2 separate regions of the Homo sapiens genome follow, and region 1 is linked to region 2. Evidence: promoter capture Hi-C in 16 types of primary human blood cells and fetal thymus (Javierre and others, 2016). All regions are on one chromosome and are shown on one strand. Each heading gives the region's core, a stretch centred on a gene start or on the middle of the fragment in contact. The rest is flanking DNA. Distances are from core to core; before and after follow the strand shown. Region 1 overlaps CABLES2 (Cdk5 and Abl enzyme substrate 2). Region 2 holds the start of ADRM1 (ADRM1 26S proteasome ubiquitin receptor).

Region 1 (4,139 bases), core at 1,186-3,685, 91 kb before region 2:
TCCCAGGTGAAGGGTCACACGTGGACACTAGCCTCCAGCAACAGTGCTGACGTGAAGGAAAACTGGAGACACAGAAACGGGTGTGGCTGTGAGATGTGTGGGGAGGAGGGCTGGGCTTTGTTGGGAGCACGGAGGAGAGGCTGAATAAACCAAACACCTGGCTGCCCAAAGCTGGCGGAGGGCCGCAGCTGGCACCGGCTGCACCCTGAGAGGCTGTGTCGGGGAGGCCGCAGGGGCTGTTCCTGTGGCCCCGTATTCCCATCACTGCATGTCCTGAGGTGTCCTGAGGTCCAGAGTGCTCCCTTCCTTCTGGAGCTCCCCCTGCCGGGCACCCTCCTTGTGGTGACTGTGGGTCTGGATGGACCCTTGCTCCCCATCAGTCCTGTACAGCTCCCAGCAGACGTGAGTGCCAGCCCTGGCTCCCGTCATCCAAGCCAGAGAGGGGGAGAAGTTCTCCCACTGTTGTCCCCCTGGTGAGACCCTGGGCCCAGGCAGGGCAGAGCCAGCGTCCAAGGGAGGAGAAACAGTGGCTTCTGCCTGTGCTCTCTGGGCCCGGGGCCCGGCTGCTCGAGCGCCTTGGAAGGGAGCCTCCAGGCCAGCCTCTCTGTGGACCTGGATCAGGCCCTTTCTGGTGGTGTTGAGCCCCGCTCCACCCAGGACCTCTGAGGTCTGGCTCGAGGCAGCCCTTGGCCTCGCCATCCTGTCCCCTCTGGCTGCCTCTCATCTCTGAATGAGCCAAGATCCTGAGGTGAGGCCGCCAGCCCTACCCGCACTGGGTCAGGAAGGAGCCTTCGGGATGTCACTGCTGTGCCTGCCCACGTGCAGCGGCGTCCCAGGGAGGGGAACCCCGGTAGCTCCTGTAGGGAATCCACTCTGAGAGCTTGCGGGGGCCAGGCTTAGTGACGGTGGCCACCCGGCCTCCTGGGCTCAAGTCCCCTTGGACAGCATGGGCAGTTTCCCAGCACCTGAATTTAGGCAGAAGGAATTTTCCATGGAAATGTCTGTAGCTCTGGAAGCAGCAGTACCTTGAGCCCCGCTCCCCGGCCCCGTCTCCCCTGACTCCGTCCCCCTGCAGGATCGTGCTCATCTGTGCCAAGCGGTCCCTGTGCGCGGCCTTCTCGGTCCTGCCCTATGGGGAAGGCCTGCGGATCAGGTGAGTACTCAGCGCTTGCCTCGCATGCGGTGTCCATCTAGGCAGAAGGCAAGGCCTGGTCTCGGCCAGGCCCAGGAGGCATCAGCGGGCACTGCGCCCCCAGGTGCGGCTGCCCCCGGGCTCATGCGAGGCTCAGCATGTCAACCTCCAGCAAAGCTCCTCAGGAACCCGGGGCCGTTTCGGGTCCTCACTCTCCAGAGGAGCCGGTTTCTGTTCACGCTGTCGATGTACAGGTGGCTGGGCTGTCCCACCTCCTGTGGACAGAGCCACTTGGTGCTGTGACCATCCAGGCAGTCGTATCCGTGCGTAATTCAGGGAAGGAGGAAACAGCTATGGGGTGGGGATTATGTGTGGCCCTGGCTTAAAAACAGTGGTGGAGAAACCTGACCAGGCGTGGGCACATGTACCTAGTGGGCTAGTGAAGGTGGGCGCCACCCCGGGGGCTCTACCAGCCAGTGTCTGTACTGGGGAAGCGGGGCTCAAAAACCCCTCCTTCCATGAAAGCACTCCTGACGTGCGCCTTCCTGGTCACACCAGTGCCGCCTTTCTTTCCCGAGGGGCTGTGCTGACATTGTTCCCGAGAGCACCTCGGGCCAGCGGACAGGTGGGCTGGGCTGCCAGAGCCTGAGTTCAGCGCAGACCACAGCCCCTTGCCTCTCCCATGTTTGCAGTGACCTGAGGGTGGACAGCCAGAAGCAGAGGCACCCGTCCGGCGGCGTCTCTGTGTCTTCCGAGATGGTCTTTGAGCTAGAAGGTGTGGAGCTAGGAGCAGACGGGAAGGTAAGAGCCTCTTCGCTGGTGGACACCCAGCGCCGTCAGGGCCAGGCAGGCGGGTGGGAGCAGTCCCACGTCAGTGCCCACGAGGCACACGTGAAGCTGTGCTTCACTCCACGTAAAACGCAAGGGTGGAGTGGATGCGGGCCCGTGCAGCCCTGAGAACGTGGCCCTGGAGCCCGTCGGACTCCCCCGCCTGGCCGTGCCTGAGGTCTGCGCCACTGCCCCACAGCCAGGTGCTCCTGGACACCCCCCTGCTGCAGGGTGGGGCTCGCCAACCCTCTGGCCTCTGTGCTGGTGGTCAGCAGTCTTCAGAGGCAGGGAGAACGTTACAGGCTACAGAACCCAGATAAAGCACAGTAGTGTTCCGGAATGTTCTAGCTATGTGAGGAGCAGCGTCTAGCTCAGACGCAGCCTCAACGGCTTGATCTGAGTTGTTCCCTTCATTTTCCATGCAGGGCTCCTGGCATGTGCGTCTGGGCTTCCTGCAGCGGGAGCTCACTTTGCCCTCTGGTCCCGGGAGGCAGAGCTGAGGCCAGATGCATTTGCTTTTCCAGGTCGTGTCTTATGCGAAGTTCCTGTATCCCACCAACGCCCTGGTCACACACAAGAGTGACAGCCATGGCCTGCTGCCCACACCTCGGCCCAGTGTCCCCCGGACTCTGCCAGGGTCAAGACATAAACCTGCCCCCACCAAGTCGGCACCAGCCAGCACAGAACTAGGTAGCCCACGTGCCTTAACCACGGCCTGGAACAGGGTGACCCGCGTGCCTTAACCACGGCCCAGGGACTGCAGCAGCATCAGCAAGCCCCTTTCAATCTGTAGCCCTCCGTGCAGATGGAGCCTGGGGAACAGGGTCAGGAGAGGAACAGCTCCACACTGAATCGCTATCCCTGGGCTTGGCCTGAGCCAGGCAGTGGGGAGGAGCTGCATCCACCCACAGATGACTCCAGGGAGGGCCCCTCCTCTCAGGACATCCTTTTCTTGCCCTAAGCCCTGGGCCCTTCAGGAGAGAACCATGGCCTAGAGCCCCTCCCCTGCTCGGCCTTGCCCCGCCATGGCGCTGGCCTGCCAGGCCTTGGGGCTAGATGGGTACTGCTCAAGACTCCTGGTGGGTCAGGGGTTGCCTCTCTTACAGGGAGTGACGTGGGGGACACCCTGGAGTACAACCCCAACCTCCTGGATGACCCGCAGTGGCCCTGCGGCAAGCACAAACGTGTCCTCATCTTTGCGTCGTACATGGTGAGTGCCCTCTCCCAGGGCCTGGGTGCAGGCAGCTGCACACCTGTCCTGGCTCGGGGCGTGTGGGGCAGGCTGTGGGCAAAGCTGCCCCAGGGGCGTGACGTGCCCCCATCCCGGATCGCAGCAGCACAGACAGTGGCGGTGTGCAGGGCAGGCCAGGGAGCAGTGCTGGCCACTCCAGCTGGGGTCCACCCTTGCCCTTCCGCCCTCGGCACCTGGCAACCTGGCTCTCCCCACACCAAGCAGGCATGGGCTCTGGAGTTCTCTCTCTTGAGCCATTTTGTTCTCAGAGATTCGGGGCCTCTCAAGCCACACCGTATGCATGTTTGCAAACCCAGGACAGTGAGAAATCCATCGTACCCAGCAGGCAGGACCCATGGACTGTGCGAGGGGCCGGCCCAACCCTGCCCACTCTCTGTTGCAGACCACAGTGATAGAATACGTGAAGCCCTCAGACCTCAAAAAGGACATGAACGAGACCTTCAGGGAGAAGTTCCCCCATGTCAAACTGACGCTGAGCAAAATCAGGAGGTGAGGACACCCTCTCAGACCATCTCATCGTCCTGGGAGGCCCTGCCAGCCTCTCCTCTCCAGTTTCTGGTAGATTCTCTCCAGCTTGACAAGTCTAGCCGCTGCCCATCCCCAACCCCCTCTCGCCATCCGACCAGGCCCCCAGCAGCAGCTCCCCCACCTCCACCGCCCGCCAAGCCAGGCCCCCCGTGGCCCCATCACACTGCATCCCCCCACACACCACTGGGTCTCTCACAGCCAGACCCTCGCAGCAGCCCAGGATCTTTTTAAAACTTGAGTGGGACAAGGCCTCTGTTGTGCCCGGCCCCTCCCAGTGTGTGCTATTTTGTGAGTAGATTCCGTGGCCCTTCCCCTGGCCCACAAAGCGCCCCCATCCAGGCATGCTGGGTGCTCGCCAAGGCCGTCCAGGTGTGCCTCTGCTCTCACATTGTGCCACGC
Region 2 (4,044 bases), core at 1,492-3,991:
GTGCACAGATCAGTGTCAGAAGCATCGACCTGCGAGCTCACAGAGCTGGGAGCAGAGCACCCACGCACACCCCGAATGGCTATGGAAGCTGCAGGGCGCCAGGGACACTGGGAGTCCCTGCTCTCATGGCAAAGCAGGGACGGGGGACTTAAAAGCCACCAACAGGAAAATCGGGGAAAAAAGGGAGATGGTGGTAACAGTTGGACACTATTTCTTGGCAAAACCGTGGAAAAACACGTTCTACACCAGCAGGTGGCAAATTGTGGCCGCCATCTGTGTTTGCAAATAAAGTTTAACTGGAGTTTGGCTATGCCTGTTCATTTTCTCAGGCCGCTGCACACTACTTGCACAGGTGACCAGCAACACAGACCATGTGCTCCACAGAGACCTCAGCCAGGGCCACCCCTGCTCTTGAAAGTGCCAAGGGGGGTGGGGTGGGGACAGCAGCTCCACCTCTGGCAGAGAGCATGGCCTTCTCTCTCCACACTGCAAACGCATGCACACGCTTCCTGACCACAGGCCCGCCACCAGTTTTCACCTACAGATGATACTGGCTTATGGAAAATGATCTGTGTACCGGGAAATTCTTTGCAACACTGCCTGTAACAGCACAAAAAACGGCAACAAGCTCAATGGTCACTGACAGATGGCAGAATGAGCAGCGGCCTCTAGACCCAAAAGACGCTCTGCAGCTGTGGGTAAGAGAAACCCTGGGCACTGACACCCCTGGCCTCCAGGACACACTGCCAGGGAAGGGGCAGGACTGTGGAAAGTGTGAGCAGGATGCTTCGTTTCTGTGAGCACCAGCAGGGAAGCCACACAGGGGCCTCTGCCTCTGCTGTGGGGGCCTCAGTGACCCACGGCAAGGGGCAGAGAGAGGGCACTGGGCATCGTTAGAACCAGGGCCAGCATGTCTGTCTGCCTGGAAATTTCACACCGCAATCGGTTGCCCGCAGCCCAGCCTGGAGCCTCCGTACTCTGGGAGAGGACCTCGGCCCCAGGTAGCATGCACCGCAGCCCTGAGGTGGCATCTCAGGCCGTGTGGCCGGGTGTGGCCGGCGCCTGCTGGTTTATAAAAGCCAATTGCACCACACTGTAAGCAAGTTCCTAACCGAATCGCAGGGCAACAAAAAGGCACAACCCCAAGGCCTGCCCCATACCTGCATCCAGAAGAAAAGCCGCTTGGACCCTGCCTTGAACTTCAGCACGTAGACCCTCCCGCTGGGGCACTGCGGCACCCGCTTGAACTCACAGTCGTCAGGGAAGATGATCAAGTCCTGGCAAGCCAGGGGAAGAGAGAGTCAGTGGCGCAGATGGCATCACTGTGCCCAGTCTCAGGAGAGCGTACTGAGCCCTGGGTCTAACCGGGTGGGGTGCGCAAGGGGCAGCTAAGCCGCCAGACCCCTCGCTGGCAGGGTCTCCACAAGGCAGAGAAGCCAGGGTCAGAGACAGCCCATGAAAGGCAAGGCCGGGGGAGAGAGCAGGGAAAGGGGCCTTTCAGATGGCAACGGGGTTTCTGAGACGTGCTGGAAACAACATTCCCAGAGTAGTTAAAAAGTCAACGCTGAACTGCTCTCAAATGTAACAAAGAACAACTAAGAGTTTGAAAAACAAAGAAGACTGAGTGAAGCCGCCAGGCACAGAGCTCCAGGCTCTCCAGGGCCACACCTCCAACCCCAGGCACCTCACACGGACAGTTCAAGGCCAGGCACAGAGCTCCGGGCTCTCCAGGGCCACACCTCCAACCCAGGCACCTCACACGGACAGTTCAAGATACACAGTGGCCGAGATGCCCCTGTCACCGCGGAAACCAGGACGACCCATCAGCAGGGCAGTCGATGACGGCCCCACGAGCGGTCCCCAGATGCGGCCAAGCCCCCACCGCGAACTCCAAAGCGAGGACTCCGAGGGCCCGAGAAGTCGCCTGTCCTGCTGCTGCGGCTCAGGGACACTCACGTCTTCCACGTTCCCGGACGTCCTGTCCTTCCAGCAGAAGTGAATAAGCGAGTCGTCCGTCTGCTGAATGTACACCAGCCCTTTCCGCTTATCCGGAGTCACGGTGGTCCCCTTCAGGGACATCTTTCCCGCCCGAAACTCCACCAAGTACTTGTTGGAGGCGCCCCGAGAGCCTGGCACCAGGCTTGGAAAGAGCGCGCCTGAGGTCGTCATCCTGAAAGCGCGGAGAGGACGCTGAGACGCGGCGGTCACTGTCGCCTGCGGTCCGGCAAGCTCCCGCCCCCTGGGGTGTTTGCGAGCAGGGGGCCTGCGCCCAGAGCTGCCTAAGGCAGACTCAGACACGCCGGGCTGCCTTTCCGCGTTTGCCCCGCTCACGACGATCGCACCGCCCGCACTCGGCGCTGGGCCGGGGCAGCCCCGCCAAGCCTAGTGGGGCCGGCCCTAGGCTTGACGCCGTCTCCGCGGGGCACCAGCCTCGACGCGCCACCCCGGCGACCCGCTCCGCGGGGCAGACCCGCCCGAGCTCCCGCCGAGCCCCACGTTCAGAGCCGCAGGCGGAACCGGGGCGGCGCCCGAGACCCCAGAACCCCCGCCCGGCCCGGCCCCCGCAGGCCCCACCCGCCGCGCCGGCCACCTTCTCGTCTTGGCTGCCCCCGCCCCATCCTTGGTCCAGCAGCCCCTGCCCCCGCCTCCGGTCGCCCCCGGCCGCCCCAGGCCCGGCGACTCCCGCACCTGCCTCGCGCCCACACTCGTTCGAGAGGCGCCGTCCGGGCTCGCTCTTCCTCCTCGGCGCCTGCCGGGCCCCGCCGGAAACCCGCGTTCGGCCCGCCCCGCCTGCCGCTCTCGCCGCCGATTGAGCCCCGTAAGCCGCGCAGCCGGCTCTAACCTGCCAACGATTGGCGAGGGCGACCGTCCATCGCACTCGCTCCTCCCCGGTCCGCCCCCGCGCCGGCGGCTCTTTTCCGGCGGAAGCGCGGGCCGCAGGGCGCTTGGACCAGAGCGGCCCCTATTGTTGCTGTGTCATAGGGGAGCGGCGGCGGCCCCTAGAGGCGGCGCCAGGGACCACAGGCGGGTTTCAGAGGGGCGCTGGGGAACTGCTCAGGTGGGGCCGAGCCCACCCCTCGGCGTCGCCCGCCCGGGCGGGCAGAGCTGTCACTCGTGTGGCTGAGCCAGGGGTTAGGCGGAGGCCGAGGAGTGCGGTCCGGCTGTGGGCGGCGGGCACCAGGGCTACGCATAGAAGTGACCATGGGTTCAGCGCTTTGGGGACCCAGGCGGGAGCTGGAGTCCACGCGTCCGGGAGAGCAGGGGTCCGGGAGGGTAGAGCGAGGGTGAGAACCGTGATATGGTCTCAGCTGTATACATCTAGTCCCGCAGGGGTCCGGGAGGGCAGGGGTCAGGAAGGGGTGGGTCCGGGAGGAGAGGGGTCCCGAGAGGGGAGGGGCTCCTGGAGGGGAGGGATCTGGGAGGGGTGAGTCCGGGAGGGGAGGGGTTCCCGGAGGGGAGGGGGCCCGGGAGGGGAGAGGGTCCCGGAGGGGAGGGATCTGGGAGGGGTGAGTCCGGGAGGGAGGAGTCAGGGAAGGCCTGAGTCCCAGACGGGTAGGGTCCTGGAAGGGAGGGGTCCTGGAGGGCAGGGGCTCACCCTCTGGACGCCTGGATGGGAAAGGCCACAGGGTAAAAAGGCGGCAGTCGCCCGCCAGTGTTGTGTAACTTTGAGTCACTTTGACACAAACTAAAGCGAAGACAACAGATAGTGTTTGTGGCGCCCCAGCCGGCTGCTGAAGGGACACGTTCTTTGGGATTTGCCTACAGCGACGCCAGGCGGGGGCTCTTAGAGGGCTCAGGCGCGGTGGCTCACGCCTGTAAACCCAGAACTTTGGGAGGCCGAGGCGGGCGGATTACTTGAGGCCAGGAGTTCAAGACCAGCCTGGGCAACATGGTGAATGAAACCCCGACTCTACTAAAAATGCAAAAATTAGCCAGGTATGCTGGCACATGCCTGTAATTCCATCTACTCAGGAGGCTGATGCACGAGAATCGCCTGAACCCGGGAGGTGGAGGTTGCAGTGAGCCGAGATTGCACCACTGCAC

Evidence for each region. The method cuts DNA at HindIII sites, captures the fragments that hold promoters and counts their contacts. A CHiCAGO score of 5 or more calls a contact.
Region 1: a fragment that was not itself captured here is called in contact with the fragment with the promoter of ADRM1 in region 2 in 3 of 17 cell types (total B cells, endothelial precursors and naive B cells); the score reaches 6.7 in total B cells.

What each region holds. Positions count from the first base shown.
Region 1 is chr20:62,391,951-62,396,089 of GRCh38, reverse strand. It overlaps CABLES2 (Cdk5 and Abl enzyme substrate 2), which reads left to right. Exons shown (of 10, transcript NM_031215.3): 4 at 1,076-1,153; 5 at 1,825-1,933; 6 at 2,485-2,650; 7 at 3,067-3,170; 8 at 3,595-3,701. Among named protein-coding and RNA genes, the nearest start is that of RPS21, 6.9 kb to the right of the region's middle. RefSeq lists enhancers at 1,960-2,484, 2,701-3,201, 3,202-3,702. The HindIII fragment of the contact is 8,008 bases long and covers 1-4,139 here.
Region 2 is chr20:62,301,694-62,305,737 of GRCh38, reverse strand. ADRM1 (ADRM1 26S proteasome ubiquitin receptor) reads right to left here and starts at 2,741. Exons shown (of 10, transcript NM_007002.4): 1 at 2,689-2,741; 2 at 1,957-2,170; 3 at 1,161-1,277. The coding sequence starts at 2,169. RefSeq lists silencers at 2,632-3,091, 3,112-3,231. The HindIII fragment of the contact is 19,122 bases long and covers 1-4,044 here.